Regions from separate parts of the Homo sapiens genome. Here regions 2, 3, 4, 5 and 6 are each linked to region 1. The links are contacts of gene promoters, found by promoter capture Hi-C in blood cells and fetal thymus (Javierre and others, 2016). All regions are on one chromosome and are shown on one strand. Each heading gives the region's core, a stretch centred on a gene start or on the middle of the fragment in contact. The rest is flanking DNA. Distances are from core to core; before and after follow the strand shown. Region 1 holds the start of KRT5 (keratin 5). Region 2 has its middle 24 kb from the start of EIF4B. Region 3 has its middle 3.2 kb from the start of KRT18. Region 4 has its middle 11 kb from the start of KRT8. Region 5 has its middle 5.0 kb from the start of MIR9898. Region 6 overlaps KRT79 (keratin 79).

What was found. Contacts are between HindIII fragments. The CHiCAGO score rates a contact against its expected background, and 5 or more counts as called.
Region 2: a fragment that was not itself captured here is called in contact with the fragment with the promoter of KRT5 in region 1 in 1 of 17 cell types (non-activated CD4 T cells); the score reaches 6.0 in non-activated CD4 T cells.
Region 3: a contact is called between a fragment that was not itself captured here and the fragment with the promoter of KRT5 in region 1, in 1 of 17 cell types (erythroblasts). The highest score is 5.1, in erythroblasts.
Region 4: a contact is called between a fragment that was not itself captured here and the fragment with the promoter of KRT5 in region 1, in 2 of 17 cell types (M1 macrophages and naive CD8 T cells). The highest score is 5.4, in M1 macrophages.
Region 5: a contact is called between a fragment that was not itself captured here and the fragment with the promoter of KRT5 in region 1, in 1 of 17 cell types (non-activated CD4 T cells). The highest score is 5.6, in non-activated CD4 T cells.
Region 6: a fragment that was not itself captured here is called in contact with the fragment with the promoter of KRT5 in region 1 in 1 of 17 cell types (fetal thymus); the score reaches 5.5 in fetal thymus.

Annotation. Positions count from the first base shown.
Region 1 is chr12:52,519,144-52,523,865 of GRCh38, forward strand. KRT5 (keratin 5) reads right to left here and starts at 1,251. Exons shown (of 9, transcript NM_000424.4): 1 at 599-1,251; 2 at 1-17. The coding sequence starts at 1,153. RefSeq lists enhancers at 1-338, 3,158-4,123. The HindIII fragment of the contact is 4,587 bases long and covers 113-4,699 here.
Region 2 is chr12:52,979,977-52,984,698 of GRCh38, forward strand. No RefSeq gene overlaps it. Among named protein-coding and RNA genes, the nearest start is that of EIF4B, 24 kb to the right of the region's middle. The HindIII fragment of the contact is 692 bases long and covers 2,380-3,071 here.
Region 3 is chr12:52,943,526-52,948,247 of GRCh38, forward strand. It overlaps a transcript of KRT8 not described here. Among named protein-coding and RNA genes, the nearest start is that of KRT18, 3.2 kb to the right of the region's middle. RefSeq lists enhancers at 230-824, 2,014-2,609 and silencers at 3,560-3,854, 4,240-4,534. The HindIII fragment of the contact is 1,627 bases long and covers 1,428-3,054 here.
Region 4 is chr12:52,913,443-52,918,164 of GRCh38, forward strand. It overlaps a transcript of KRT8 not described here. Among named protein-coding and RNA genes, the nearest start is that of KRT8, 11 kb to the left of the region's middle. RefSeq lists an enhancer at 4,597-4,722. The HindIII fragment of the contact is 8,808 bases long and covers 1-4,722 here.
Region 5 is chr12:52,891,620-52,896,341 of GRCh38, forward strand. No RefSeq gene overlaps it. Among named protein-coding and RNA genes, the nearest start is that of MIR9898, 5.0 kb to the right of the region's middle. RefSeq lists silencers at 2,393-2,571, 3,486-3,780. The HindIII fragment of the contact is 2,110 bases long and covers 1,380-3,489 here.
Region 6 is chr12:52,819,550-52,824,271 of GRCh38, forward strand. It overlaps KRT79 (keratin 79), which reads right to left. Exons shown (of 9, transcript NM_175834.3): 5 at 4,649-4,722; 6 at 4,338-4,463; 7 at 3,467-3,687; 8 at 2,796-2,830; 9 at 1,859-2,528. The coding sequence ends at 2,323. Among named protein-coding and RNA genes, the nearest start is that of KRT4, 7.8 kb to the left of the region's middle. The HindIII fragment of the contact is 2,485 bases long and covers 715-3,199 here.

The sequences.
Region 1 (4,722 bases), core at 1-2,500:
TGCTCCAGGAACCGCACCTGGAGGGGAGCAGGGTTTGAAGATAGAGAAACTTGGATTTCATGTTCTATGATCAACTCACTAAGGTGCCTCCCACCTCTTTCCGTCCCTCTAAAGCTTTTCTGTGCACTGTGCCTGGCCCTGGGCCCCAGGAGGGGAGGTGCAGACTGAGGCACCCAAACTCACTTTTCCAGGGGGAGATAGGACACCTATCCAGGGCACAGAAAGCACTAGGAGTGCTGCTTGGAGTGTGTCCCGGCTCAGGGGTGGCTGCAAAGGCACTCAGGCTGCTGCCCATGCACTTGTCTACCTTCCTGTACAGTCAGCCCCTTTATATATGGCATGAAATTCATCTCTCTGTCCAACAGTTGTTAAGAGGCCCTTGTGAGCTAACCTCTGAATGGGAAGAAATAATTCTCCCTTCCCAGCTGCCAGTCTAATTCAGAACGTGTCCACAAATCCAGGGCACAGAAACAAACGGAAACACAGAACTGTACAACTATAAAAGTATTTGCACAAAGCCAAAACATCTTCCTTCTTTCTCTCTCTTTGGCATTTATTTCAGACCCACAGTGATTTTTTACAAAAGATCGTAGCTCACCTTGTCGATGAAGGAGGCAAACTTATTGTTGAGGGTCTTGATCTGCTCGCGCTCCTCGGTCCTCACCCTCTGGATGCTGGGGTCGATTTGCAGGTTGAGGGGAGTCAGGAGACTCTGGTTGACAGTGACCTCTTGGATACCTCCAGGAGGGCAGACAGGAAAGCCAGGGCCACCGAAGCCACCTCCAAAGCCAGCTCCGCCACCGAGCCCAAAGCCACCACCAGCTCCACCGCCGAAACCAAATCCACTACCGGCACCACCTCCAAAGCCATAGCCGCCTCCAGCACCAGCACCAAACCGGTTCCTGAAGCTGCCACCACTAGTGCTGATGGATATCCTCTTGGAGCCCCCCAGGTTGTAGAGGCTCCGGCTGCCATAGCCACCCACTCCACAAGCACCCGCAAGGCTGACCCTGCCGAAGCCACCACCACCGCCACCCCCGGACCGGGACACGGAGGTGAAGCTGGTGCGGGAGACAGACGGGGTGATGGCAGAGGCGGTGCTGAAGCTACGACTGCCCCCGCTCCGGAAGGACACACTTGACTGGCGAGACATGGTGGCTTGTTCCTGGTGGAGCAAGAGAACCAGGCACTAGTGGGTTGGGAGGTGCTGGAGAGAACAGAGCTCAGCAGGACGCAGAAGGTGGCTCTGTTACCCAGGAACGGTGATGCCCCCTTTTTATCCCTTCCAGAACTGGGCTGGGCGAGAGAGCTGTCGAGCTGTGAATGATTAAGTGGGCTGGGCATGCCTGGGGGGCAGCTGTGAGCTCACCGGTCACACCTGCACAGTGGTGTGGGGTGCAAACGCTTTCTTCCTGGCAGGCTCTGCTCAGTTAGAAATAACCTTGCCTTGCAGCACTGATCTCTTGGCAGCAAGTTGGTGACGCTGCTAGCAAGTATGTCTTCACCATAGAGGCTGGGGGCTGTGAGCAGCCCAAAAAGGATGCCAGGAACTGAGGGGGCATTGGCATGGCCAGTGTCCTGGGGACTCTTACAGGACCAGGAGTATTGACAACCATCCCAGTACGGTACATGCTGAGCACCTGCCCTTCCAGCTTGGGGAAGCTGTCCATCAGCGGGGGGCAAACGATTCCCCAGTGATCTGCTCTTACACTTTTCCAGGCAGCAGGTTGCTGCAGGGTTTTCCCCTCTGGGAAAGGCAATCTGTAGCCTTATATTCTTGGTTATGTGCTAGAGGGAAAATAGAGTTTCATCCTTTTCTGCACAATTTTTTTCTTAGGGAAGGCACAGCTATCCCAGAGCCCACTGGGCAGATCTGCCTGCAAGGTTTAGGCCAGAGAATGTGGGAAGCCCTCAGCGCCCCCTATAAACCACTTTGACCTCTTTAAGGCCAGGTTTATCCTTCCATAGCTCCTCCTAACTCAGCATTTTTTCTGCCCTTTGACCTTTTCCTTGCTCTTTGGCCTGGGCAGGACTCTGTGGGGGGTTTAGGAAACCCGGGGATCCCATGCAATCCCTTAAAAAAAAACCCTGAGACTCATGGGCTATAGCGTCTCTCTTTGGGGGTAGCTACTCTGCCGGTTCCCCAGCCCCCCAGGTGTGTTCCAGCAAGCTCTATTCCACTAGGGAAGAAATGAGTCATCGTATGTGTTGATACAGGCTGAAGGCCGCCACAAACACATACCTGCAGGAGCTTCTAATCTCATCAGGAACATGTTGAGAGTCTGACGGCCTGTTATAACGGCGAACCACCCTGTTCCAAGCAGCGGGACTTGCTCTGCTTTCTCTATGCTGTAGCCCACAGCCTCCTTCAGGGCCAAGGCAATGGAAAACGGGATTCTAAGTCTATGGATTGTCCTGCCAGAAAGGCTAGCCAGAGCAGGCCTGTGGGCCCAGGCAGCTGGCATGACAATCTGCCAGCTGCTTTAGGGAGGGCCCTTTGAGATCCCCTCTGCAAAACTTGTCTGGGGGGTTGTGGCACCAGGTGGAGGAAAGGGGGTTTCTGATGAGGTTTTAACACACGTCTGTTCTAAACCACACCCACTCTTTTTGGCAGCAGATCTGAGTGGGGCCACCTCTCTGCCGTCCCCCAAATAGAAGCAGGGCTCTCAGGCAGGACAGTGCTTGGGCTGTTCAGAGTTTCGGGGGCGCCCTGTGGCCCGAGGCTGGAGGTAGGAATGCAATGGGGATGGCTTCAAAGCCTCAGGGAGGAGGGGCTATATTCTCAAGAGTAGAAGAACAGGACCAGACCCAGGCTCAGGAATCTCTCACCAGGGCCTGCGGTTGGCCACAAGGAAGCCAAGGCAGTGGGAAAATGACTCCCTGGTGCTGAGGATCAGCTGAAACAGTGACTTCTCACCAGAGGGCTGCGATGAGCAAGCAGCTGACAGGTCAATCTCGGCAGACAGACCAATGGCCGGAGCCGGTCTTACAGGTCTTGAGCAAAATGGTTTGGGTGGCCTCCCTGGCTGGAGCATTTCTGAGACCCTCAGAGATGAATTGTGCTGAGCTCACCATTTTCACATTTGGTTGCTTTCTGGAGAACAGATGTGAGTGTCCTGGAGGCCTGAGACATACCAGGGGACCCTCGGCTCCTGATAGAACAGAACAGATCCAAGCCTGAAGCAAGTGTCTGAGGACTCGTAGTGGGATGCTCCTGCTCCACTCAAAGATCGATATCGGGGTATATCCCCACCACCACATACACTCACAGGTCCCGGGTACAGACCTCACTGCCCTCAGGGAAGCCCCACCCCTCCTGAGACACTGGGACATTCTCTTCTCCCCATTCATTCTCCTCCCAGCTGTGTTGTGAAGAAAGAGGACTTGGCAGAGCAGGAATGCGTTCTGGCTAGTCTGAGGATTGCTAGAGTGTGCCAAGCTCAGATCCATGTGCCAGGGACCAACGGTGAGTGTGTGGTGCTCCATGGGAGCAGGGAGCATGTGGGTGCTCCATGGGAGAAGCAGCAGCACTCTTCTATCCGAGCTTCGTGGGAATCCTCCCATGAGCAGGCAGGGCAGCCCCTCCCTCAATGCCAGACCTGGACAGGTATAAATAATGGAGCCGCTCCTGGTGGGGAGCCAGGCACCAGCACCACTGCAGCTCGGGAGAGTCCCACCCCAGCCTGGAATTTCACTGTGGCAGGAAGGGAGGGATTGTGTTAGGCTCACCAGGGAGCTTTCCTGCTGGGCACCCCACAGAGGCAGTTCCCAGGCTTGGTGGGACATGTTGCTCAGCTTCTCCTCTGGGTGCTGCTTTCCTTGTCAGCAGAAGACAGTGCAGGGCCCGCCCTGCTGCTCTCCCCATCAGAGAAAGGACAGTAAGCTGGCTGCCCTGACCTCTCTCGCAGAGCTGTGCAGGGAATGTAGGACCTGGTCAGCATTTCATACATGGAGAAGCCCTTCACAGACACCAGGGAGAGGGTGGTATCCATTCGTGGAACAAGGGTTAGGCAAATCCTGCCATCCCAGCCCAGGATTCCTTCTCCTCAGAGCCTCCACTCCAATCTGTAGGGCTTTAGTAGAAGATACATTTAATAGAGCATGATAAATAGAACATGTTCCATAAAACAGCATTTGTACATATCCTCTAAGTCCCCCCCAGCAGGGCAGTCTCCAAGGTTAGGGAACATCTCTGCATGGCCCACACCCTCAGCCCAGCCTTGGGCACTGGAAGTGTTCTGCAGATATTTTTTGGAGTGAATTGACAGACAGAAAATCCTCTTCCTCCGCTCCTTCCCCAGATTGTTATGTGAAGCCCACAATGGCAAGAACCTCAATTGCTTTTGCACCAACCTATATCTACACCAACCTATGTATAACAGAATGTATATACATTATATATATTCACATATATTTCTGTGAATCCTCCAGCCCTATGCTGAGTCTCAGAGTCTTGTCCATCTGATTTTGTCTCTCAGTCCGTGTCTACAGGATGAGTCTGTTGTCCCCTTCACACTGGGTATGCTCTGTGTTTAGGATTTAGGATTTAATCTAGCATTTAGGATTCTTTATTCCTTAGGCTTCCCTCCATCCTTCTTCTTCCCTCACCCTTATTCTGAGGGTGTTCTGCATCTGAGCCCACTAACAAGTAGCCTGCACGTGCCACCCCAGCCCCCAGGCCCCTCCAGGAGAGAAAGAAAGCTTTAGTGGCCTCAACTTTGC
Region 2 (4,722 bases), core at 1,476-3,975, 460 kb after region 1:
AATAAATAAAAATAAAAATAAATGTGTGCCAGGCCCAGTGGTCCCAGCTACTTGGGAGACTGAGGTGGGAGAATCTCTTGAGCCCAGAAGTTTGAGACCAGCCTGGGCAACAGAGCAAGACCACCTCTAAAAAATATATAAATAAATAATAAATAGATAAAACTAGATCTCATAATATCCCTCACCTACTTAAAACCCTTCCGTGACCCAGGAAGCATCCAGACTCCATGGCCAGTGCCCTGACTCTGTGTTCCAGCTCCTCTTTTTGCAGTCTCCCCTGCTGACCAGCCTCCAGCCACACCATTCACTCCACACACACACTCCTCCCTTAGCTCCCTCCCACCTCCTCATCAGCGATCTCTCCCTCACCTTCCGAGGCTCTGGCTAAATGCTCTGGTATACAGAAGGAGCTTGATGAGTATGGGGAAGGTATGGGAACAGAGGAAGGGAGGAAAAGCCATGGCGACAGGGTGACACTTATAGCAACAAGTTGTATGGTGAGGGGGGCAGGTTAAGGGATGAGGCTGCAGAGCTCCCTTGAACTATCCCTTTAAGCATTTTGTAATGACTCCTATCCCTTTAAGCATTTCATAGCAAGATCTGCACCTGTTTGAGTTATTCTGTTTTATTTCTGGCACTGCATCAATATAGCCATTTGTTTTATTAAATGACTCTGATGGCATTTTTTTTTTTTTTGAGATGGAGTCTCGATCTGTCACCCAAGCTGGAGTGCAATGGCATGATCTCAGCTCACCGCAACCTCCACCTCCTGGATTGAAGCTATTCTCCTGCCTCAGCCTCCCGAGGTACGCACCACCATGCCCGACTAATTTCTTGTATTTTTAGTAGAGGCAGGCTTTCACCAAGTTGGCCAGGCTGGTCTTGAACTCTTGACCTCAAGCCTCGGCCTCCCAAAGTGCTGAGATTACACATGTGAGCCACCACGTCCGGCACTGATGGCCTTTTTGACTTGGTGACTCCAGCTGTCCCTGAGAAAAGCAGTCTTGCCTCCCTCTGCCCCCTGGTGGCCTTCTAGGTGCAGAGACCATTGTTCCAGTCATCCTGGCTACTAGAATGGCTTTGATTTTCTGGCTTATAGCACCACCATTTGGCCAAATTTGCTAATAGGCGGCTGCTCCATCCACATTGACTTCCAATTTCTTTTCAACCTTCTCATTGGCAGAGTTCATGGAATCAGAGCCTCTTGGAGCTTAAACAACGTCAGTGGACGTAAGAGCTCTCCAGAGCCTCAAGCAAGCTTGCAGTTCATTCTGGAGGGCCATGCTAGCGGCACAGACAGAATGGCAGTGATCATGGTGCAGGAGTCGAGGAACTGGCCCTGTGAATGTCAGGCATGTGTCCCCCTGGGTTTCCTGGTCCTTCCCTATTTGCCCTTGCCCTGACACACCTCTCATCCTCCTTCATGCTGCCTCCTGCACAATGCTTCTCCAGATTGGCTCAGTCCTATTTACACAGTCTTTGATCTGGTGTTTATGTCTTTTTTTTTTTTTTTTGAGACTGGTCTCAAACTCCTGACCTTGTGATCCACCCGCCTCAGCCTCCCAAAGTGCTGGGATTACAGGTGTGGGCCACTATGCCCGACCTATGTCTTTATTTTTTTTTTTATTTTTTTTTTTGAGACGGAATCTTGCTCTGTAGCCCAGGTTGGAGTGCAGTGGCACGATCTCGGCCCACTGCAAGCTCTGCCTTCCAGGTTCACGCCATTCTCCTGCCTCAGCCTCCCGAGTAGCTGGGACTACAGGCACCCGCCACCACGCCCAGCTAATTTTTTGTATTTTTAGACAGAGATAGGGTTTCACCGTGTTAGCCAGGATGGTCTCAATCTCCTGACCTCGTGATCCGCCCGCCTCGGCCTCCCAAAGTGCTGGGATTACAGGTGTGAGCCCCTGCACCCCCGCCCGACCTATGTCTTTATAATAATACCTAATATTTATATAATGCTTTGCAGTTTATGAACTATTTTATTTTATTTTTTATTTTTATTTTTTTGAGACAGAGTCCCACTCTGTCACCCAGGCTGGAGTGCAGTGGCATGATCTTGGTTCACTGCAACCTCTGCCTCCAGGTTTCAAGTGATTCTCCTGCCTCAGCCTCCTGAGTAGCTGGGACCACAGGCACGTGCCACCACGCCCGGCTAATTTTTTGTATTTTTAGTACAGACAGGGTTTCACCATGTTAGCCAGGATGGTCTTGATCTCCTGACCTCGTGATCCACCTGCCTCAGCCTCCCAAAGTGCTGGGATTACAGGCGTGAGCCACCAGGCCCAGCCTATGAACTCTTTTATACAGAACTACCACTCTTCAAGTGCTTACTGTGTGGCAGGTACTGTGCTAAGGATTTGAAATAAATGATCCCTAAGCTTTCCAAGATAGGTAAGTATAAGTGGTCCCATGTTATGAAAAAGGAAACTGCCAGGCGTGGTGGCTCACGCCTGTAATCCCAGCACTTTGGGAGGCTGAGGAGGGCGGATAACCTGAGGTCAGGAATTGGAGACCAGCCTGGCCAACATGGCGAAACCCTATCTCTACTAAAAAAATACAAAAATTAGCCAGGCGTGGTGGCAGGTGCCTGTAATCCCAGCTTCTCAGGAGGTTGAGGCAGGAGAATTGCTTGAACCCGGGAGGTAGAGATTGCAGTGAGCCCAGATTGCACCATTGCACTCCAGCCTGGGTGATAGAGTGAGACTCCATCTCAAGGAAAAAAAAAAAAGAGAGGCTGGGTACAGTGGCTCAGGCCTGTAATCCCAGTACTTTGGGAGGCCAAGGTGGGCGGATCACAAAGTCAGGAGTTCGAGACCAGCCTGGCCAACACAGTGAAACCCCATCTCTACTAAAAATACAAAAATTTGCCAGGCATAGTGGCGCACGCCTATAGTCCCAGCTACTCAGGAGACGAGGCAGGAGAATCGCTTGAACCCAGGAGGCGGAGGTTGCAGTGAGTTGAGATCGCACCACTGCACTCCGGCCTGGGCAACAGAGTGAGACTCTGTCTCAAAAAAAAGAAAAAGGGAACTAGGGTTTCGGACAAGACCAAATGACATAGTAGAAAAAGCTTTGAAGTCAGACCAGATCCAAGTTTGAATTATTTATTTGTTGTTGAGTATCACAAACTGTCAGTTCACTCCCTGGATAAAAATTGCATGTGAACACCTCTAGCCAGGGCATGCACTCCTCAATCTTCCATAGTCTGCACCACTCCCAGTGACCTACACCACTTCGCACACTTGCCTATCTGAACCCTGACAGTATTTGAATTTGAGACCCTTAAAAATATTATTCCACTTGATCTTTAACAGGGGTTTGTAAGGAAGGCAGTAGCATAACAAAGGTAGGAGGGTAGGAGGATTCCACCCTGAGTCAGGCAAGAACGGATGTTTAGTCCGTAACGAATTTTATTTTATTTTATATTTTATCTATTTTATTTTATTTTATTTTTTGAGGCAGAGTCTCCCTCTGTCACCCAGGCTGGAGTGCAGTGGCAAAATCTTGGCTCACTGTAACCTCTGCCTCCCCAGTTCAAGTGATTCTCCTGCCTCAGCCTCCTGAGTAGCTGGGATTACAGGTACATGCCACCATGCCTGGCTAGTTTTTTTTGTTTGTTTGTTTGTTTTTGTTTTTTTGGTTTTTTTTTTTTTGAGACAGAGTTTCACTCTTGTTGCCCCGGCTGGAGTGCAATGGCACAATCTTGGGTCACCACAACCTCCACCTCCAGGGTTCAGGAGATTCTCCTGCCTCAGCCTCTGGAGTAGCTGGGATTACAGGCATGTGCCACCACGCCTGGCTAATTTTGTATTTTTAGTAGAGACGGGGTTTCACCATGTTGAGCAGGCTGGTCTTGAACTCCCAACCTCAGGTATTCTGCCCGCCTTGGCCCCCCAAAGTGCTGGGAATACAGGCATGAGCCATCGCACCAGCAGTTTTTGTATTTTAATTAGTATTATCAGTGAATTAATAATATCTGCCCTATGATTATAAAATTGAGCAGTATAAAGATATACAATGAAAAGAAAGTCTTCCTCCTACCCAGCACCCAGCCCCACAACCCACTCCAGAGGCAACCATTATTTACAGTTTTTCAACGTATAGGTGGATATCATTTTAACCTAATTTTACAAATGAGGAAACTGAGGCTTAGAGAGGTTGAGTGGCTGTCCTGAGATCACGGGCCTGATGGAGCTAACAGAGATGATATCAGATCTTGTCCTTGACACTGCATTGCCACCCTAACATCATCCTGCTTCACACATACATCCTGGGTATGCATCCTGGACTGAGAGTCCTCAGAGGGCAGGAGTTGCCCATGGAACCTGCTAGGGGCAGTAGTCAGCACTGGGCCACTGGGTGCTACAGCAGGAGGCCTGGGATCTGCACCATGATTAAGCTGCTGTGTGATGTTGAGCAAATCTCTTGATTTCCTCACTTGCCTTTCTTTCTCACTAGGCTATATTGAGATTTAAACAAGCCAAGTAGAAAGATGATTGGAGAGTAAAGATGTCATACAGATTCAAGGAGGGGTGAGGACAGATATTTAGTATAGGGTTAACTTTGTACTTTCCTTGGAGCACACGTGTCCATGTTCAGATACTTTACAGATACTTTAACTTGAGCACATGCGTCCTTGTTCAGTTCCTTGAAAAGTGTTGCTTGTTCACTGCCTTTCTTCTTTTTTTTTTTTTTTTTTTTTTGAGACAGAGTCTTGCT
Region 3 (4,722 bases), core at 991-3,490, 430 kb after region 1:
CCTTCTTTTCCCTGATCCTTTCCCTTAGGCCACCTCACCCACAACTGGGTTTCACCCAAATCCTTGAGGGGGATGCTCCAGGTGGGCCCGTTGCACGTGGCCGTGCAGGGTGTTCAGTGTACAGGCACACCCTGCCAGGAAACAAGGAAGAGGCTCCCTCTCTGCAATTTGTGTAAAGGCCCCGCAGGTTAGCTGTGACCCTGGCATCCATACCTCCTGCCCCATGCCTCTCCCAAGCTCCAGCCCTGCTCTCCTAGCTGCTCACAGGATAGTTCCCTAAACACTGCTGGCAGAACCTGCCCAGCCTAGGCCAGGAAAGAGGCTGACAGAGACAGAGCCGGCTGACTGGATGATCTGGAGATAGGTTCTTGGCCACTCTGTTCTTCCATTTCACCCCCCTTTTCAAAGACTCAGTCTTAGCCACCCTGCCCTGAGCCCATGTTAGATGGAAAAAAATAGTGGTGAGCAGGGAGCAGAAGGCTGGAGAGTAGTAAGTGCAAAAGAACAAGGGGGCTGGGAAGAAAAGGAGCAAATGGGGCAAAGCAGACAGGAGGGGAGGTCAGCTGGCTTCTCAGCTGCCAAAGCTCTTCCAGGCACGTCATCTCATTTGGTCCTCATGAAAACTCTCTAAGTGGATATTACTATTTTTCTCATTCTACAGCTGAGGAGAGACCAAGCTAGTAAAGGCTGCTCAAGATCACTAAGCCAGCAGTGGGGAATATTGTGAAATATTGAAATATTTTATTATTTCATAGAGACAGGGTCTTGTTATACTGCCCAGGCTGGTCTCAAATTCCTGGCCATAAGCGATTCTCCCACCTCAACCTCTCAAAGTGCTGGGATTACAGGCATGAGCCACCTGGCCGAATCCAGGTCTTTTGACACCAAGTGCCCTATTCATCCCTTTGCCCTCCCCTAATCTCTGGGCAGATTTGAGTGAGGCGATAGGCTGGGGGATATGGCATTGGGATACTGGGGTTGCACCTGAGGAGAAGCCAACAGCACCAGGGTCAGAATGGGCAAAGGACATAAGCACAGGCAAGGCCATTCCTGGTGGGGCTGGGCCAGGGAGCTGAGGGGCTCCTAGAAGGGCCAGGTTCCCCGACTTCTCTGAGCTTCAGCGCCTGGAGGTTTCTGGGCAGCCACACGCTTCTCAGCGCTGACCCTTCCTCTTCCTTTATCCTTGGAAAATAACCCCTAGGGCACAAACCCAACCGAAGCAATGATACTAAGTGTCAGGGCATTCCTCGACTCTCCCACCCCTGGGGAAGAGGGCCTGGCCCAAGCCCTGAGAACCCGTTCCCACCTCCACAGGCAGTGCCAGGGACTCCAAATAGGGTGCTGAAATTCCAGAAGTCTTGATATCAGACTGGGTCCTGCACCCAGCTGCCACCCGCATCCTCCCCCTGCTCCGCAGCTGCCTCTGAAGCTTGTACCCTTGCCCCCACCTCTTGTCTCTCTGCAGTCTACCTGACTGCACTTTCTGATGACCCCCACTGACCTCTCCTAGCACCCCATGTTTATTAATTACTTAAACCTAAAGTATTTACGGAGCTCCACCTATGTGCCAGATGCAGGGCTGGGCAGGAGGATTCCCATTCCACCCCAGATTCCTTTTCCTTTGGGTTCTACCCCAGATCTCCCTCTGTCTCAACAGCTCTACCCTTAACTCAGCAGCCCTGGGATTTCTCCTGTGGGAGGGCCCCCTGCATGGGTATACCCTCCACTGAGAGTAGCTGAAAGGAGCCCAGGGGAGCCTCCCAGGCGATCCCTTCCTCCCTCCAGCCCACCCCACCACAGGGCCTTCTCACTGTCTCCAACACACTGGAGTCACCCTCAGTCTTTAAAGAAGAGGATGGGAATCAGTCTCTCCCTGTTTTGTGTATAGACCCCATCCTTACACCTCAGTTGCTGTTCCGAACACCTCCCTCCTCCAGGCTGAGCAAGGAATTTCCAGCCTAAATGTTAAAGCAAAGGCGGAAGGACTGCAGGCCTTCCAATCCTCCCTAATCCTCTCATCTCTCCACCACCTAGTTTCCCCAGAGCCATCAGCTCAAGCCCTTTGTGGGAGAATGTGGAGTGGGCAGTAAGAGCTGACCCACCCCTATCGGGTCATCTCTGAGTCTACTCTGAAGTTAAACCTGCCTCACAGGTTCCCACTCCCCTTCTGCTGGACGCTGGAATGCAGGACTGATGGTGGGTGGAGAACCATTTCCCCTCTTTCCGGATTCCCCCCTGCCGAGGCTCATTACTCTTTGTGTCTGTTCTGGGAGCTTCTCACCAGGGCCCCTCCTGCTCCACCCTTTCCCGGGACTGTCCTCACAATCACGCCATCCCCCTTTCCACCTTGCTTCCCACCCCCACCCCAGAACCCTAGTGCTGGGAATCTGGAGGCCGAGACCTTCACCCCAGCTCTCCAAGAGGCTCTCTGACAAAGTGAAAAAGCCCTGAGCCACAGAGGAATCTGGAAGTGGTGGAAAGGGGCAGGCTGGTGCTGGAAGCCCGAGGTCGGTATTTGCCCCATGCTGCAAGAAGTCAGGAATGTGGCCATCGACATCAGTAGGAGAGATAAAGTCTAGCTGGCAGCTCTCCCTCTCCAGCCCCCACGCTGCACCTCCACAGGTCCCAGAAGTTTCCTAGCAGTTGGGGTGGGGCAGGAATCAGACAAGGACCTGGGAATTAGCTTGGAGAAAAATTCTAGAATCTGTTTTGATTGCTGGTAGATTTCAAAGTGCCCCAGGGTTTTTAAATGACTCAGAGAGACAGACTTCAAACCCCTTGAGCCCGTCTTTCGAATTAAATTGACCCCCTTTATCTGCCCTCCTGTATATATTGAAGCCTTCCTTACTTTGAAGGAAGGCTCCAGTACAAATAATTAGTATTTGTTTGATGAATGAGTGAGTGACAATTTACACTCACATTCACTGCCACCTGAGGAAATAGACTGGACAGGTCTTACTGTTTTCCCTGTACAAGTGAAGAAATTGAAGTTCAGAGTTAGGTGACTTCCCCAAGGTTACACAGCTAGCAAAGTATCCAGGCTGGCTGACTTAAAGCTTAGCAATAACAGTAAAAGGCAGTACGTAGCTTGTTGACTCCACATACTTTATTATAAAATACTGCCCAACTTGACAGTTCTGGAATCCAGTGGGGGAATATAAAGGTGAAAGCAGGAGAGACCCCTCTGACTGGAACCTCTTACCTCCCAGAAGCCTTGTATGCAAAACCAGTGGGCATTCATTTGTATGTTATTTTGCATCCCGTTTGCCTCCCAGCCTTCAGCAGGCCCCGACCCTCCCCTGGCCAGCTTCCACCCTGACTGCCCCCTGGCTGGCTCCCATTGAGCACTGTGGGGCTCTCCCCACCATTAGGTGACAGATCAGGAACAATCCAGGCTCAGGCTCTTTATCTGTGCTCTGCCTCCCACCTGGCAGGTCCACTGGCCAGGCTTTTCCAGGGTCCCTTCTCTCCCAGGTCTGCCCTACTATTTGTCCTCCCCTTCCCCCTCAGCTGGTAGCTCGATAAGAATCAATAGGTCCACTCCAGAGCAAAGAACACAGCCAAATGTGTCATACCAGGCCCTGCCAGAAAAACGAGCTGCTGGAGCTGACAAACTTGAAGGCCAAACACCTAAGGGTTCCCCCCAACACTTCATTCAGCAGGGATGGTCATTCAGCTTCAGGGGGCAGGCAGCATGAAAGCCTCCCTACCTCCATCCTTCTCACACAGAGGCTGGGGAGAGCATCTTGGAGGATGCAGTCCCCTGGGGCCAGGCTTCTAATCCAGACAGCCCTTACAAGGGGGGACAGGGGAAGGACTGGCTTGGAGAAAAGTCCTAGAAAAGAGGGGAGGGGCACTGGCCACCAGGGCTGGGTCGCTGCTATGATGGTCCTAGGAGTGCCTGCCTGTCCTCTCAGGCCCCATGCGATGTAGGACACATTACTTTTATTTATTTATTTATTTATTTATTTTGAGTCAGAGTTTCGCTCTGGTTGCCCAGGCTGGAGCGCGACGGCACGATCTTGGCTCACTGCAACCTCTGCCTCCTGGGTTCAAGCGATTCTCCTGCCTCAGCCTCCTGAGTAGCTGGGATTACAGGCACACACTGTGCCTGGTTAATTTTTGTATTTTTAGTAGAGAAGGGGTGTCACCATGTTGGTCAGGCTGGTCTCAAATTTTTTTTTTTTTTTTTTTTTTTTGAGACAGAGTCTTGCTCTGTTGTCTAGGCTGGAGTGCAGTGGCATCGAACTCTTGACCTCAAGTGATCCACCCGCCTCGGCCTCCCAAAGTGCTTGGATTACAGGCATGAGCCACTGTGCCCGGCGATGTGGGACACATTATCATCTCTGTGAGAGATTTTTGGTCTCTTTTGTCACCGCCCTTCTCTCCCAGCTCCTAGAACTGGGCCTGGCTCACAGTAGGTGCTGAATGCATACTGGTTGAATTGTAAATGCTCAGGATTTGTTTAATTAAGGATGCAGGAAAGGTGATATACCGGTGTGCAGAAGTCAGGATGCATTCCCTGTCCAAATCACAGTGTTCCACTGAGGCAAGGCCCTTGGGAGTGAGGTCGGGAGAGGGGAGGGTGGTGGAGGGGGCTCAGAGACTGGGTTTGTTTTGGGGAGTCTGCACCTATTTGCTGAGTGAATGTATGTGTGTGTGCATTTGAGAGCACACCTCTGTATGATTCGGGTGTGAGTGTGTGTGAGGAAACGTGGGCAG
Region 4 (4,722 bases), core at 1-2,500, 390 kb after region 1:
AATTTTCAGGAGGGCAGAGGTGCATGATGATAAGCAGGTGTTTTTGAGCACGTGTCTTTATATGCATGTATCCATATAAATACAAAGCACACATGTTTGATGGGTTATCTCCCAGAACAAACAGCCTCACAGGCCCACCCCCCACCCTGTGGGCACACAACCTCAGCCTATAGCACACACGCCCTCTTGTCCCTCACACACTCTCTCAGGTTCACACACACCCCACCTGCCCTCTCACTTGCATGGCCTGACGCACACGCCAAGGTGCAGTACCACCTCACATCCTCATCTCAGGCACAAGCATGTGCGTGTACCACCCGTCAGAGTCCCGTGCACACCACCTTCCTACGAACGTCACACACATACCTGTGCACACACAGCCATATATAACACACATCCAAACTCAAATACACGGTTACAGGTTTGTTTGTTTTTTCTTTTATACAGACAGAGGTTTCACTATATTGCCCAGGCTGGTCTCAAAATCCTGGCCTCAGGCTGAGAGAGGTGGCTCATGCCTCTCTAATACTAGCACTTTAGGAGGCCAAGGCCAGCTGATTACCTGAAGTCAGGAGATCAAGACCAGCCTGACCAACATGGTGAAATCCCGTCTCTACTAATAATATAAAAATTAGCTGGGCATGGTGGCAGGCACCTGTAATCCCAGCTACTCGGGAGGCTGAGGCAGGAGAATCGCTTGAACCCAGGAGGCAAAGATTGCAGTGAGCCAAGACTGCCCTATTGCACTCCAGCCTGGGCGACAGAGCGAGACTCTGTCTCAAAAATAAAACAAACAAAACAAAAAAAAAATCCACCGGGTGCAGTGGCTCACGCCTGTAATCCCAGCACTTTGGGAGGCCGAGGCAGGCGGATCACCTGAGGTTGGGAGTTCGAGACCAGCCTGACCAACATGGAGAAACTGTCCTTACTAAAAATACCAAAAAATTAGCATAGTATGGTGGCGCATGCCTGTAACCCCAGCTACTCAGGAGGCTGAGGCAGGAGAATTGCTCGAAGCCAGGAGGTGGAGGTTGCAGCGAGCTGTGATCATACCATTGCACTCCAGCCTGGGCAACAACAGTGAAACTCCGTCTCAAAAACAAACAAAAAATCCTTGCCTCAAGCAATCCTCCCACCTTGGCCTCCCAAAGTGCTGTGACTCCCAAAGTTACAGGTGTGAGCCCCAGCTCCCAGCCAAAGGATACACATTCTTGATTGCAAGTGGCTGAAACCCAACTCAAACAGACTTAAGCATAAAAAGATCATTTCTTATAATTGAGAAGTTCAAGGGTGCATTTGGCTTTCAGCCTAGCCAGATAAGGGGCTCAGTGATATCATCAGGACCAAGACTCTCTTCCTGTCTTTTGGCTATTTTCCTCCATGTTAGCTTCGTCCTCGGGCAGGCCATCTCCCTGCTGCAGGAAGGGCGACCACTAAGGGAGCACCTCTTTCCCGATGCTTCCTGCTGAAGTTCCAGGGCTGACTCTCCAAGGCTGATATAGGTCACATGCTCATCTCTGAACCAATCCCTGTGGCCAGGGGAATAGAATACTATCATGTTGACTAGACTAGACCACATAACAAGACCCTGTGGAGGGGTGATCAGCCCCACCCAACCTATAGAGAAAGGGGAAAAAAAATGTGATTTGGGCCAGGCGCGGTGGCTCACGCCTGTAATCCCAGCTCTTTGGGAGGCAGAGGTGGGCGGATCATGAGGTCAGGAGATCGAGACCATCCTGGCTAACACAGTGAAACCCCGTCTCTACTAAAGATACAAAAAATTAGCCGGGCGAGGTGGCGGGCACCTGTAGTCCCAGCTACTCAGGAGGCTGAGGCAGGAGAATGGCGTGAACCCCAGGGGACGGAGCCTGCAGTGAGCCGAGATCTCGCCACTGCACTCCAGCTTGGGCAACAGAGCAAGACTCCATCTCAAAAAAAAAAAAAATGTGATTCACCAAAAGACCAGGAAGAAATGCTGGACAGGGCCAGGAACCATGCCTCACGCCTGTAATCCTAGCACTTCAGGAGGCTGAGGCGGGTGGATCACCTGAGGTCAGGAGGTCGAGACCAGCCTGGTCAACATGGTGAAACCCCATCTGTACTAAAAATACAAAAAAATCAGCCGAGCATGGTGGTGCATGCCTGTAGTCCCAGCTACTTGGGAGGCTGAGACAGGAGAATCGCTTGAACCCAGGAGGCAGAGGCTGCAGTGAGCCAAGATCCCACCACTGAACTCCAGCCCAGCCTGGGTAACAGAGCAAGACTCCGTCTCAAAAAAAAAAGAAGAGAAAAGAAAAGATAAACAAATGCTGGACAGGCAGAAACAACAGATGTTCACTACATATGCTAACCAAAATGTACACCAATAAAGACGTGGAACCAGAGAAGCCAGGTATAAAGATATCCGTGTACACACCGAGCCCTTCTATAAATACAAATACTACCTGGCCAAAGTCTACCTTCTGTACCTTATCAACGGAATATTGATTTCAGATAAATAAATGATTCAGATGTATGCTATAGGACTTCAGGGGAAGGAGAGAGCCCTTAGATCAAGCTGAGCTTAGGAAAGTAAGATATGGATGGAAAGATCTGGAAATGTGATAAGCCACTGGACAGGAGCGGGATTCCTATGGAAGAGTAGAAAAGCTAGATATTGGGGAGGAGGGTGGGACTAGGGGTTTCAGAGGCCAGACAGAGCTTTTTCTGCAGGCTGCAGGAAGGGAGGAGCAGGATGATGAGCTTAAAGCAGTGCTTTAGGAAAATTAAGCTGGCTGGGGTGTTCAGGATAGATGGTAGGGGCAAAAACTAGGGGCAGGAGACTAGAAAGGGGGCTACTGCAGAAAGCAGGTCTGGAGGCCTGCAGTGTGGTAGGAGCAGGAAGATAGGGATGGACTCAAGCTAGAACCAACAGGAGGTGGCAGTTGACTGCATGGGCGTGAGTCCAAGGTCACTCAGCTGCACTTCTAGCAGCTCCCTGCTGAACCCTAGCACCTTCTGTTCCAGCTAGACTGTTCCATGCACTTGCCATGAGCCACTGGGCTTACCATCGTGTCATCCAATCAGTTTTAGACACAGCTCCTTGGAGACAGAGCAGGTTCCTCCAGCGTCTGTGTCTGGTTCCTGTCTCAGTGCCAGCATCTGCCCAGCAGGGTACTGGCCCAGAGTAGATGCTCCAGAGTAAATGTATAGACCCTCCCCTGAACATGCAGTTTATACTTGCCTCCTTAGCTTGGTTCATCCCACACACACCCCTTCACTCTGGTAACAGCACGATGAGGCTGTCTCAAAACCCACCACAGTCCTCAGCAGCAGAAGCAAGTGTGGACAAGCCCGCCTTCTCGCATGCTGACCATGCTGGAGCAGGGTATGGCTTTTGTCTGACTCTTAGGACTGACTGATGCAAGGAGGTGCCTGGGATAGAGAGGAGAATGGGCACCATATTCCAGTGAGACATAGCGCAGGAGCTGGGAGTGCCAGCCCTGGAGAAGAGGTTCCCAATGTGTATAGAACCTCAGGACTGCCTGGAGGAATAGGGGACATTCATCGGTGTGACCCAAGGGATATAACCAGCACCAATAGGAAGGATTCCCCCAGAGAGAGACTTCTGCTCCCTGTAATCAAGGACTTCCCAAAAGTTGGAGCTTTGTGAAAAGAGAGTCTGCGGCCGGGCACACTGGCTCATGCCTGTAATCCCAGCACTTTGGGAGGCTGAGGTGGGTGGATCACTTGAGGTCAGGCTTTCAAGACCAGCCTGACCAACATGGTGAAATCCAGTCTCTGGTAAAAAAATATATATATACAAAATTAGCCGGGTGTGGTGGTGGTGCACACCTGTAATCCCAGCTACTTGGGAGGCTGAGGCAGGAGAATTGCTTGAACCCAGGAGGTGGAGGTTGCAGTGAGCCAAGATCACACCATCGCACTCCAACCTGGACAAGAGTGAAACTCCATCTCAAAAAAAAAAAAGAAAAAAAAGAAAAGACTGAGTGTGGTGGCTCACACCTGTAATCCCAGCACTCTGGGAGGCCGAGGGGGGCGGATCATCTGAGGTCAGGAGTTCAAGACCACCCTGGCCAATATGGTGAAACCCTGTCTCTACTAAAAATATAAAAAAGTAGCTGGGCATGGTGGCACATGCCTGTAATCCCAGCTACTTGGGAGGCTGAGGCAGGAGAATTGCTTGAACTCGGGAGGTGAAGTTTGCAGCGAGACAAGATTGTGCCATTGCACTCCAGCCTGGGTGATAGGGCGAGACTCTGTCTCAAAAAAAAAAAAAAAAAAAAATTCGCCAGGCGTTGTGGCAGGTGCCTGTAGTCCCAGCTATTCAGGAGGCTGAGGCAGGGAGAATTGCTTGAACCTGGGAGGCATAGGTTGCAGTGAGCTGAGATTGCGCCTCTGTACTCAGCCTGGATGACAAAGCAAGACTTCATCTCAAAAGAAGAAGAAGAAGGAGAAGGAGGAGAAGGAGAAAAAGAAGAAGGAGAAGGAGAAGAGGAAGAAGAGGAAGAGGAAGAAGAAGAAGAGGAAGAGGAAGAAGAAGAAGAAGGAGAGGAAGGAGAGGAAGAAGAAGGAGAAGAAGAAGAGGAGGAGGAGAAGAAGAAGAAGAGGAAGAAGAAGGAGAAGAAGAAGAGGAGGAGGAGGAGAAGAAGAAGAGGAAGAAGAAGAAGAAGAAGAGGAAGAAGAAGGAGGGGGAGAGGGAGAGGGAGAAGGGGAAGAAGA
Region 5 (4,722 bases), core at 1,185-3,684, 370 kb after region 1:
TTGTATTTTTTAGTAGAGACGGGGTTTCACCATGTTAGCCAGGATGGTCTCGATCTCCTGACCTCGTGATCCACCCGCCTCAGCCTCCCAAAGTGCTGGGATTACAGGCATGAGCCACAGCGCCTAGCTAAAACTGTTCTTAAAAAATAAGTCTACTAAAAAAAAGTGCACTCTGGCAAGGGGCCCAAGTGAACCTTCTGTGATATAGGAAATGTTCTACATTACAGGTGTGAACATAAGTTAAAACTCATCAGGCGCCGGGCACGGTGGCTCACGCCTGTAATCCCAGCACTTTGGGAGGCTGAGGCGGGTGGATCACCTGAGGTCGGGAGTTGCCTGACCAACACGGAGAAACCCCGTCTCTACTAAAAATACAAAATTAGCCCGGCGTGGTGGCGCATGCCTGTAGTCCCAGCTACTCAGGAGGCTGAGGCGGGAGAATCGCTTGAACCTGGGCAGCGGAGGTTGCAGTGAGCCGAGATCGTGCCATTGCACTTCAGCCTGGGCAACAAGAGTGAAACTCCATCTCAAAAAAAATAAATAAAAATAAAAATAAAAAAACTCATCAGGTTGTACATTCCCCATTAAAGCACATTTTGCATTTTATTGTATGTACAATATGCCTCAGCAAGGAGGAAACAAAGGGACTTGTGATTGGCCAAGGCTGGCCCATTGTGAACCCTGTGTGCCTGGACAGAGGTCCTGTGATCTTAGGAGGAACAGTTCCTGAAAAGAAGTGGGGCGTGGCAGGAGTGGAGGTGGGGGAGCTTTGCATTACTAGAAGAAGGGGGAAGGGGTCCTGGCTAGACAAAGCAACTATGCCCACCACAATGTGTAAAAGGGCAGCGCGGAGAGTGAACTAGGGGGCCACCCACCATGCTGGTATCCTTCCCTGCCTTCCTTTCCTTGCAGTGGTGCTTCCTCTTCCTTTCCCAACAGGTAGAATCTATGATATATAATTACGTAGGGACATGCATGCACACATTTCTATCTATCCTTCATGAAGGGTATGTACTGTCCGCATTGTCACATGCCTTGCTTTAACATTCACTCCTCCATTCCCACCACCTTACACTCCAGTCAGCCTGGCCCTCGGTCCTTAGCCCACCTTCAGATCCCCCTACTACAGGGGAGCTCCTAGACCACCTTAGCCCAGATCAGCGGGCAGGCAGAGCAAAACCTTGGAATTAAAATATCTTCAGAAGAGTCCACAAATGCTTGGAAGACTCATCATTTTAATCCTGGGTGGTTGGGTCGGGAAAGGCAGGGTGGAGGGAAGTGGGGGATAATGGCTGGCTCATCTGGAATAGTCAAACAGGAACCTTCTTCTACACATGTAAATTTTCTAAAAAACTAAAATTCAGTCCCATAGGAAATCAAGCTTTAAAAACAAAAAGTCTACTAAAATTTAAATGTGCACACATTTTGCTTCAGCAATTCCACTTGTAGGAATTATTAAGATATCCTCACCATTGTCATAGCAAATACCAATAGAGGACTGGTTAAGTAAATTGTGGCACATCCCAAAGTGGAATATTATGCAGCTGTGAAAAAGAGTGGAGAAGCAACTTGTATACTGATATGGAAGGAACAGGTATTGGGTGAATGTTAAAGCAAGGCATGTGACAACACATATAGTACAATACCCTTCATGAAGGATAGATAGAAATGTATGCATGTATGTCCCTATGTAACTATATATAATAACTTCTACTTGGAATGAATCACAGGAAACTGGTAGCATTAATTGCCCTCTGGAACAGAAACTGGCTGACTGGGGAAGGGTCCTCTTGTACTTTTGAATTATGTATAAAGGCCGGATGTGGTGGCTCACACCTGTAATCCCAGCACTTTGGGAGGCCGAGGCCTCCTGGCTAACATGGTGAAACCCCGTCTCTACTAAAAAATAAAAAAAATTAGCCAAGTGTGGTGGCAGATGCCTGTAGTCCCAGCTACTCGGGAGGCTGAGGCAGGAGAATGGCGTGAACCCAGGAGGTGGAGCTGGAGCTGGCAGTGAGCCGAGATCATGTCACTGCACTCCAGCCTGGGTGACAGAGCGAAGACTCCGTCTCAAAAAAAAAAAAAAAAAAGAATTATATATAAAATGTATTTGTTACCTATTCAAAAAAAATTGTTGGCTGGGTGCAGTGGCTCACACCTGTAATCCCAGCACTTTGAGAGGCTGAGGCAGATGGATCACTTGAGGTCGGGAGTTCAAGACCAGCCTGGCCAACATGGCAAAACCCTGTCTCTACTAAAAATACAAAAATTAGCCAGGTATGGGGGTGCACGCCTGTAATCCCAGCTACTTGGAAGGCTGAGGCAGGAGAATCTCTTGAACCCGGGAGGTGGAGGTTGCAGTGAGCTGAGATCAAGCCATTGCACTCCAACCTGAATGACAGAGCAAAACTCTGTCTCAAAAAAAAAAAAATGTTTTCATTTATATGCGTTAAAAATCTAGTATTACTGGCCAGGCACAGTGGCTCATGCCTGTAATCCCAGCACTTTGGGAGGTCGACATGGGCGGATTCCTTGAGGCCAGGAGTTCAAGACCAGCCTGGCCAACATGGTGAAAACTCGTCCCTACTAAAAATACAAAAATTAGCTGGGCGTGGTGGTGGGCACCTGTAATCCCAGCTACTTGGGAGGCTGAGGCAGGAGAATCATTTGAACCCAAGAGGCAAAAGTTGTAGTGAGCCGAGATTGTGTCACTGCACTCCATCCTGGGTGACAGAATGAGACTCTGTCTCTAAAAAAAGGCTGGGCACAGTGGTTCACGCCTGTAATCCCAACATTTTGGGAGGCCGAGGTGGGCGGATCATCTGAGGTCAGGAGTTCGAGACCAGCCTACCCAACATGGCGAAACCCTGTCTCTACTAAAAATACAAAAAATTAGCTGGACGTGGTGGTGGGCACCTGTAATCCCAGCTACTTCGGAGTCTGAGGGAGGAGAAACTCTTGAACCTGGGAGGTGGAGGTTGCAGTGAGCCGAGATCGCGCTACTGCACTACAGCCTGGGTAAGAAGAGAGAAACTCCATCACTCAAAAAAAAAAAAAAAGCTAGGCTTAGTGGCTCACGCCTGTAATTCCAGCACTTTGGGAGGTCAGGAGATGGAGACCATCCGGGCTAACACAGTGAAACCCCGTCTCTACTAAAAATACAAAAAATTAGCCGGGCGTGGTGACGGGTGCCTGTAGTCCCAGCTCCTCAGGAGGCTGAGGCAGGAGAATCGCTTGAACCCGGGAGGCAGAGGTTGCAGTGAGCCGAGACTGCACCACTGCACTCCAGCCTGGGTGACAGAGCAAGACTCTGTCTCAAAAAAAAAAAAAGAAAAGAAAAGAAAAGAAAAAAAGAAAGGAAAGAAAGAAAGAAAGAAAGAAAGAAAGAAAGAAAGAAAGAAAGAAAGAAAGAAAGAAAGAAAGAAAGAAAGAAAAAGAAAAAAGAAAAAAAAATCTAGTATTGTCAAGAGTCAGGACACCACTTACATAAGCTTAGACTGATTCTACCTCCATGAATGGGGTTTTAAGTCCTGCCTCACAGGATCGTTGGAGACTTGAAATGAGATGACACACAAGCAGGTGAAATGGATATTTAAGAAATGTCAGCTCCTGTCCTTCCTAAGTTTCCTCATCTAAATGACCATTGGATTTCCAGCTCTTCTGTCTGTGTAGTTTCTGAAAGATAAATGGGAGGGATGGTGTCCCCTTAATGCTGGGTGACCTTGATCCCATGGTAGATGCACCAGAACCTGGAAGGAGCAAGCAGGGAGGGAGGGAAAGGGAATTCTCCCTGGAGCCATCCTGCCTTTCCCTGAGCAAACACCCAGGGCGTGGAAACTCCCAGGAGACTATCTGGTGGGGCCCCCGGCTGCCCCCAGCATGCCTGCTTCTGGGAACAGGGCCAGATAAGACAGGTGACTGGCTTCAGGGAGGATTGGGAGGGGCACAATTGAAAATATTGACTTAGGGCACCCATGGTAAGAGATCCTTCTCACTGGGTGCTGTGACTGCGCTGGGCTCTTACACCACCCACCTGATTCTTGCTGAGGGCCAGGCTACATGTGAGCAGAAGGCAGAAGGTTGGTATTGTTTCATGAAATTTTTGTTTCAGTTATATATATGTATATATACATATTTGCAGGTGGTGATAAAATGAATTTCTTACTGTGGACCACTGCCAAAATAGATCCCCTGCTCTGGATAATGGTGCTGTTAATGAGTACTACCAAAGAGTGAGATCCTCTAAGGTGACAGTGTGCAAATCCCTGGGCCTGGCCCTGGGGCTGAGTGGGAGGGGTTGGCAGTGGGGGGTTCCTGGGCTCAGTCTGGAAGCCCAGCTCCATCGATGTGGGTAGCTAGGGAGGCACTGTGTGGTAGTTAGGGAGGTGCAGAGATGGGGCCCTCAGAGGGGAGCCCAGGGGCTGGGAAGCTGAGGACCCAGAGACAGGAGCCCTGGAGAGAGACCGCACAGCAGAGCCTGACAGGAGCTTCCTGCACCAGCCTGTCCCCACTCACAGTACCCTCTGCCTGTCTCTGTCTAATCTCCATTGGTGTTTCAGAAAGTCTGGAAATGCCCCCATCTCAGTCGTGCTAAGGGCTTGTGCACTTAGCCCAATGCTGAATGGACAGGGTGGCTGCCTGGAACTCTGTGCTTGTGGCAGTGGAGCAGGACTGTGGGGATGCACTGCCCCACCCAGCTGTGTCCTAACCCCTCCTGCCCTG
Region 6 (4,722 bases), core at 707-3,206, 300 kb after region 1:
GTCTCACCATGTTGCCAGGCTTGTCTTGAACTCCTGGGCTCAAGTGATCCACCTGCCTCAGCCTCCCAAAGTGCTGGAATTACAGGCAGGAGCCACAACACCTGGCCTATGATCTCACTAAAACTGATTTTTTTTTTAACACTGCCACTAAGTTACCGTGGCTTTGGATACATTCTTCCCCTTCCTCAACCTGTTTTCTTATCTATGAAATAAAAAGTTTGGAGTCGATTACATCCAATGCCCCTTCTAGCTCCAGCATCCCCAGGTCTCCATTCCTTTTTCTATATAAGCAAAATAACCTGGTGCTTAAGAGCTTGGGCTATGGAACCAGATTGCTTGGATTCCACACCTAGCTCTGCTACTTCCTAGCTGTGTGACCTTAGGCAAGTTACTTAACCACTCTGTGCCTTATTTTCCTTATAGGCAAAATTAGAATGATAATAGTATTTATATTATAGGCTGTTGTGAAGAGAATCAGTTAAAGGCTTGACAGCAGTTCTGGCACACAGTTGGCACTCAGTGAGCATTAGCAAGTATTCCTCAAAGTGTTGTACATGGGGTGGACTATACTCCATCTGTCTGAGAAGGGAAGCTAGAGACCACCCAAGCTGGTGAGGCAGAGCTGACCCTAAACCGCTAGGCCTTTGTGTTCCTAAGCTGGAGGTTAGGGTTTGGCTGAAAATCCCTCTGCTGGCCTTCCACAGCCCTGGAGGAAGCTTTCTCAGGGCTCTTCGGGGCTCCTCTGAGGAGGACAGAGTGATCAGGCCGGAAGAGTGTGGGATGCATCCCAGCAACTGCCAGGAGCCCTAAGGTTGCCAAGGAAGGGAGCGGAGTGGTGACAGCCTCGGGTCGGGCCAACTGGTTTGGTAGCAGGGTGGGGAGGGCCTGAGAGGTGCAGGGTTGAGAGGCCAGCCAATTGGGGAATCACTTGGGTACAGCTTGAGGAGTGGGGTCCAGACTCAAAGTAGAGAACTGTGGAGATGAAGAGGAAAGAAGGTGATACCAAGAGACGCATGGAGGGAGGAGCAGTAAGATTTGGCGAGTGATGGAGGCAGGAGTAGGACGGAGGTAGCTTCTGGGGTGACAGGACAGAGGGCTTGAAATTGCAGCCCTGGACACTACTGACCCACCTCCAGCCAGCTGGATGACTACAGCATGAGAGGTCACTTCTGTGAGCGTGAATCGCCTCACCTGTAAACTGGAACACCACATGCCCACTACTGAACCTAGGGCTGTGGTGATGGTCACAGGCAAAGTAATGTATGTGTAAACCACAAAACCCAATTAAGTGTGGATTTTTCTTGCCGACTGGATGTGGGGGCTGAGAGAGACATCACTGAGGCCAAGAGGATAAGCTGGGAATCCAGAAGTCAGGGAGTGGGAAAGCAAAGAAACCTGATTCCTGAAAGGGCCTCTATAAGCCAGATGCTTTACACATGTTCTTATCACAACCCACTTTTACAAAGGAGGAAACTAAGGCTCAGAGAGGTTAGGTAACTTGACCGAGGTCATACAGCTAGTAAGTGGCAGAACTTGGATTTAAACCCAAGTTGCCTAGTTCTGAAGCCTAAGACCTCTCCACTGAACAAAGCATGCTGTCTGCCCCTACAGAGTTAGTGGGAGGCTGAACAGGCACCAGGGGTGGCTGGTTAATAGGCAGCCACTTAGCCAGGTCTGGCCTTGAGCAGCTTACATATTCCCTCTGAGCCTTGGTCTCCTCTTGTGAGCCATGTACAGCCCTGGAGTGGCGATGGTATCAAACTAATGTACCTAAGTAAGCATGGCGATTGGGATGTGGTGAGTGTGTGATTATTGCTGTGTCAGGCATCAGGATGTTAATCAATGGACACAATTTCAGTTCCCCAGGCAGGACAGACTGCAGCCACAGACAGCTAGCTGCAGTTGCACCATTTATTGAGACACAGACAGGGAAGGGGGATGTGGGTAGATTCAGGGAGAGGGTGGGTCTGGTGGGGGACTGGGGAGGTTGAAGGGTCTTTGGGGACCACTCCCAATTTCTCTCTCTCCTAATGGCTTGAGAAATTCAGCCTCCTCTCGGTGGTCAAAAGGTCACCCCCAAGTCACCCAAGCACATCACTCAAGCTGGCAACTTTAACCTTCCCTCCCATCCTACTGCAGGACCAAGGAGAAAACCTGAGTAGATTTGAGCGCTTCCCAAGATGCAAATAGTCTGGTATGAAAATACCCTGGGTCTGAGGTCCCCTGGCTGTTCCTGCTCCTGAGAAGTGACTGGAAAGGACAGCAGAGGTGGGGTGAGGAGGGCAGGGACAGGATTGCAGGGGCCCTTGCAGGGCTCAGCAGCTAATACCTCTGGCTGGACGTCTTGACCGTAGTGGTCTTCCGCAGGATGGAGGTGCCCGCAGAGACTGGCCCTCCCTTGACGGTGCTATAGCCCACATTTGTGCTGAATCCACCCTTGGTGGCCCCCCCACTCCCACCCAGGGAGATGCCACCTCCAAAGCTGGCTGCGCCACCTCCGCACACAGTGGTGGAGTTGCCAGTCACAGCTGCAAAGCAAAGGGTCTGGATTAGTCAGGGCGGCCATGCCAGAGAGGGCTGGGGGAGACCCAGAAATCAGTGGGGAATCAGAACAAAATCAAGCAGCAGAGCTATGGGAAATGGATAGAGAAGCCCAGAACTAGGACCCTCTGAACCTGTCTCCAGGGGCTCGAATGGAGGAGAGCATGCTTTAGGACAGGTACAGGTTGCATAAACTGAGCAGAGTTCTGGGGCCTGGCCAGGGGTGGAGCAGGAAGTGGGGAGTAAATACTCACAAATGCTGACTGCACTGGGACATTCTCCAGACATCCTAGGGGACACAGAAAGGCCAGGAGAGCAGTCAGTTATCCCTGGTGCCCACATGAAAACCCTCTCCTTCCCTCTGCCTTTACATTGGATCCACTCAGTGAATCCTGATGACAAGACCAGGAAACATGAGAAGTATGTGTATAGGGCTGTGCCCAGGTCCAAAAGCCAGTGCTGCAGAAAGGGCAGAGCCACCAGTAGGCTGTGCCAACTCCCATCCTCCCCTTTTCTTTCCTCTCTGCCCATGTGGGCTACGGACAGCATCCCTGCCCCAATGGAAACAAGCCCACGACCAGACAGAGCTGCCTAGTTTCTGCCCACTTTCTATTTCATGCTTTTCCTAAGGACAGAGATGGTGGATTTTTTTTTCCAAAGCTTCCACTGCTGGTGAAATCTGCTGGTGGAAGAGGAAGTTCCATTCCTACCGGGCTGTCAGCCACAGTAAAGATTAACAAGAGTTGTGCCAACCAAGGAGAGGAGTGATGGAGGCAGTGGGCACAAGCAGATTTTCCCCCCGCGTGAGTCAGGATCTTGCTCCCTGGTTCCTCTCTCCCTCTCTTGACCCCGGAGCAGACTCCCTGGGCTCTCCCCCAGGGCAGGCCCGACCCAGCTTTCTGGGTCGGGCAGGAGGGGCCACCACCTGCTCTCCTCGCTCTCCAGAAGCTTGCGGTAGGTGGCAATCTCCACGTCCAGGGCCAGCTTGACATTCATCAGCTCCTGGTAGTCACGCAGCAGCCGTGTCAGGTCCTCCTTGGCCTGGTGCAGGGCCACATCCAGATCCCCAAGCTTCTTCTGAGCATCCTTGAGTGCCAGCTCCCCACGCTGCTCCGCTTCCGCAATGGCCGTCTGCAGCTGCTGACACTGCCCAGGGGAGAAAGGTGTTGGAAGCACCCTCCGGGGTCATCCCATTCATCTCTCTGCCCTCAAGCCATGGAGACATCATCATTCCCACATCCCTGCCCCCAACCAGCTGGGAAAGAGAGAAGAGAAATATTCATCTGAAGAGATGCTATTACACAAGCAGGATCAAGTAAGGCCACTGGGAAAGTCCTTACTGAAGTCTAACCTCAACCCCTCCTGCTGCAGATCAGCCCAATGCCTCAGAAGAGATGAAATAAATAACACAGCCTTATTAGTAACCAGGTGCTTCATTCTAATCTGTGAAAGAACCCACACTTTTTAGCCGTTCTAAAGGTGGAGTCGGCATCAGCATCTGTGACCTGGCCCCTTGAACCCTCTACCTCCTGTTCTGACTTCCTGGAGATGGGATGGATCAGTTTCCTTGGAGAAGGTTGTCCCACCTGCTCTACCACTCATATACCATGTGACGTTGGACAAGCTCCTTCCTGCTCTGTGCCTCAGTTTCCCCCCATGTAAAAGGAGCCTGTGATCAATGGCCTAGCATTCTATTGTGTCCGTCAGGAGAAGAGCAGGCCTAGCCCCTCGGGGTGACAATGAGAAGGCCCTGCCAACACCTAGGCCAGACCCCCAAGCCCCCAGTAGAGTCCCACCTGCTTCTTGGCTGCATCAGCCTCCCCCTGCAGCCTCTGGATAGTGCGGGTGAGCTCAGCAATCTCGTTCTTGGTGTCCCGCAGGTTGTCCCCATGCTTCCCAGCAGTCACCTGCAGCTCCTCATACTGGGGACCAAAGAAGTGGCAGTGCGCTTTCAAATGGCCCCAGCCCACCCTCACAGCTGGAGGCCCCATGCAAGTTGAGTATATCTGGCCCCCCGGACTCCAAGGGTCCCAGAGGCCCAAGCCTCTCACGATGGGAGATCTGATCCGACCCCAGGCCTCACACCTGAGCCAGCTATGCCTCTCACCTTGGTCTGGTACCAGGCCTCGGCCTCAGCCCGGCTCCTCTGGGCAATCAGCTCATACTGGGCCTTGACCTCGG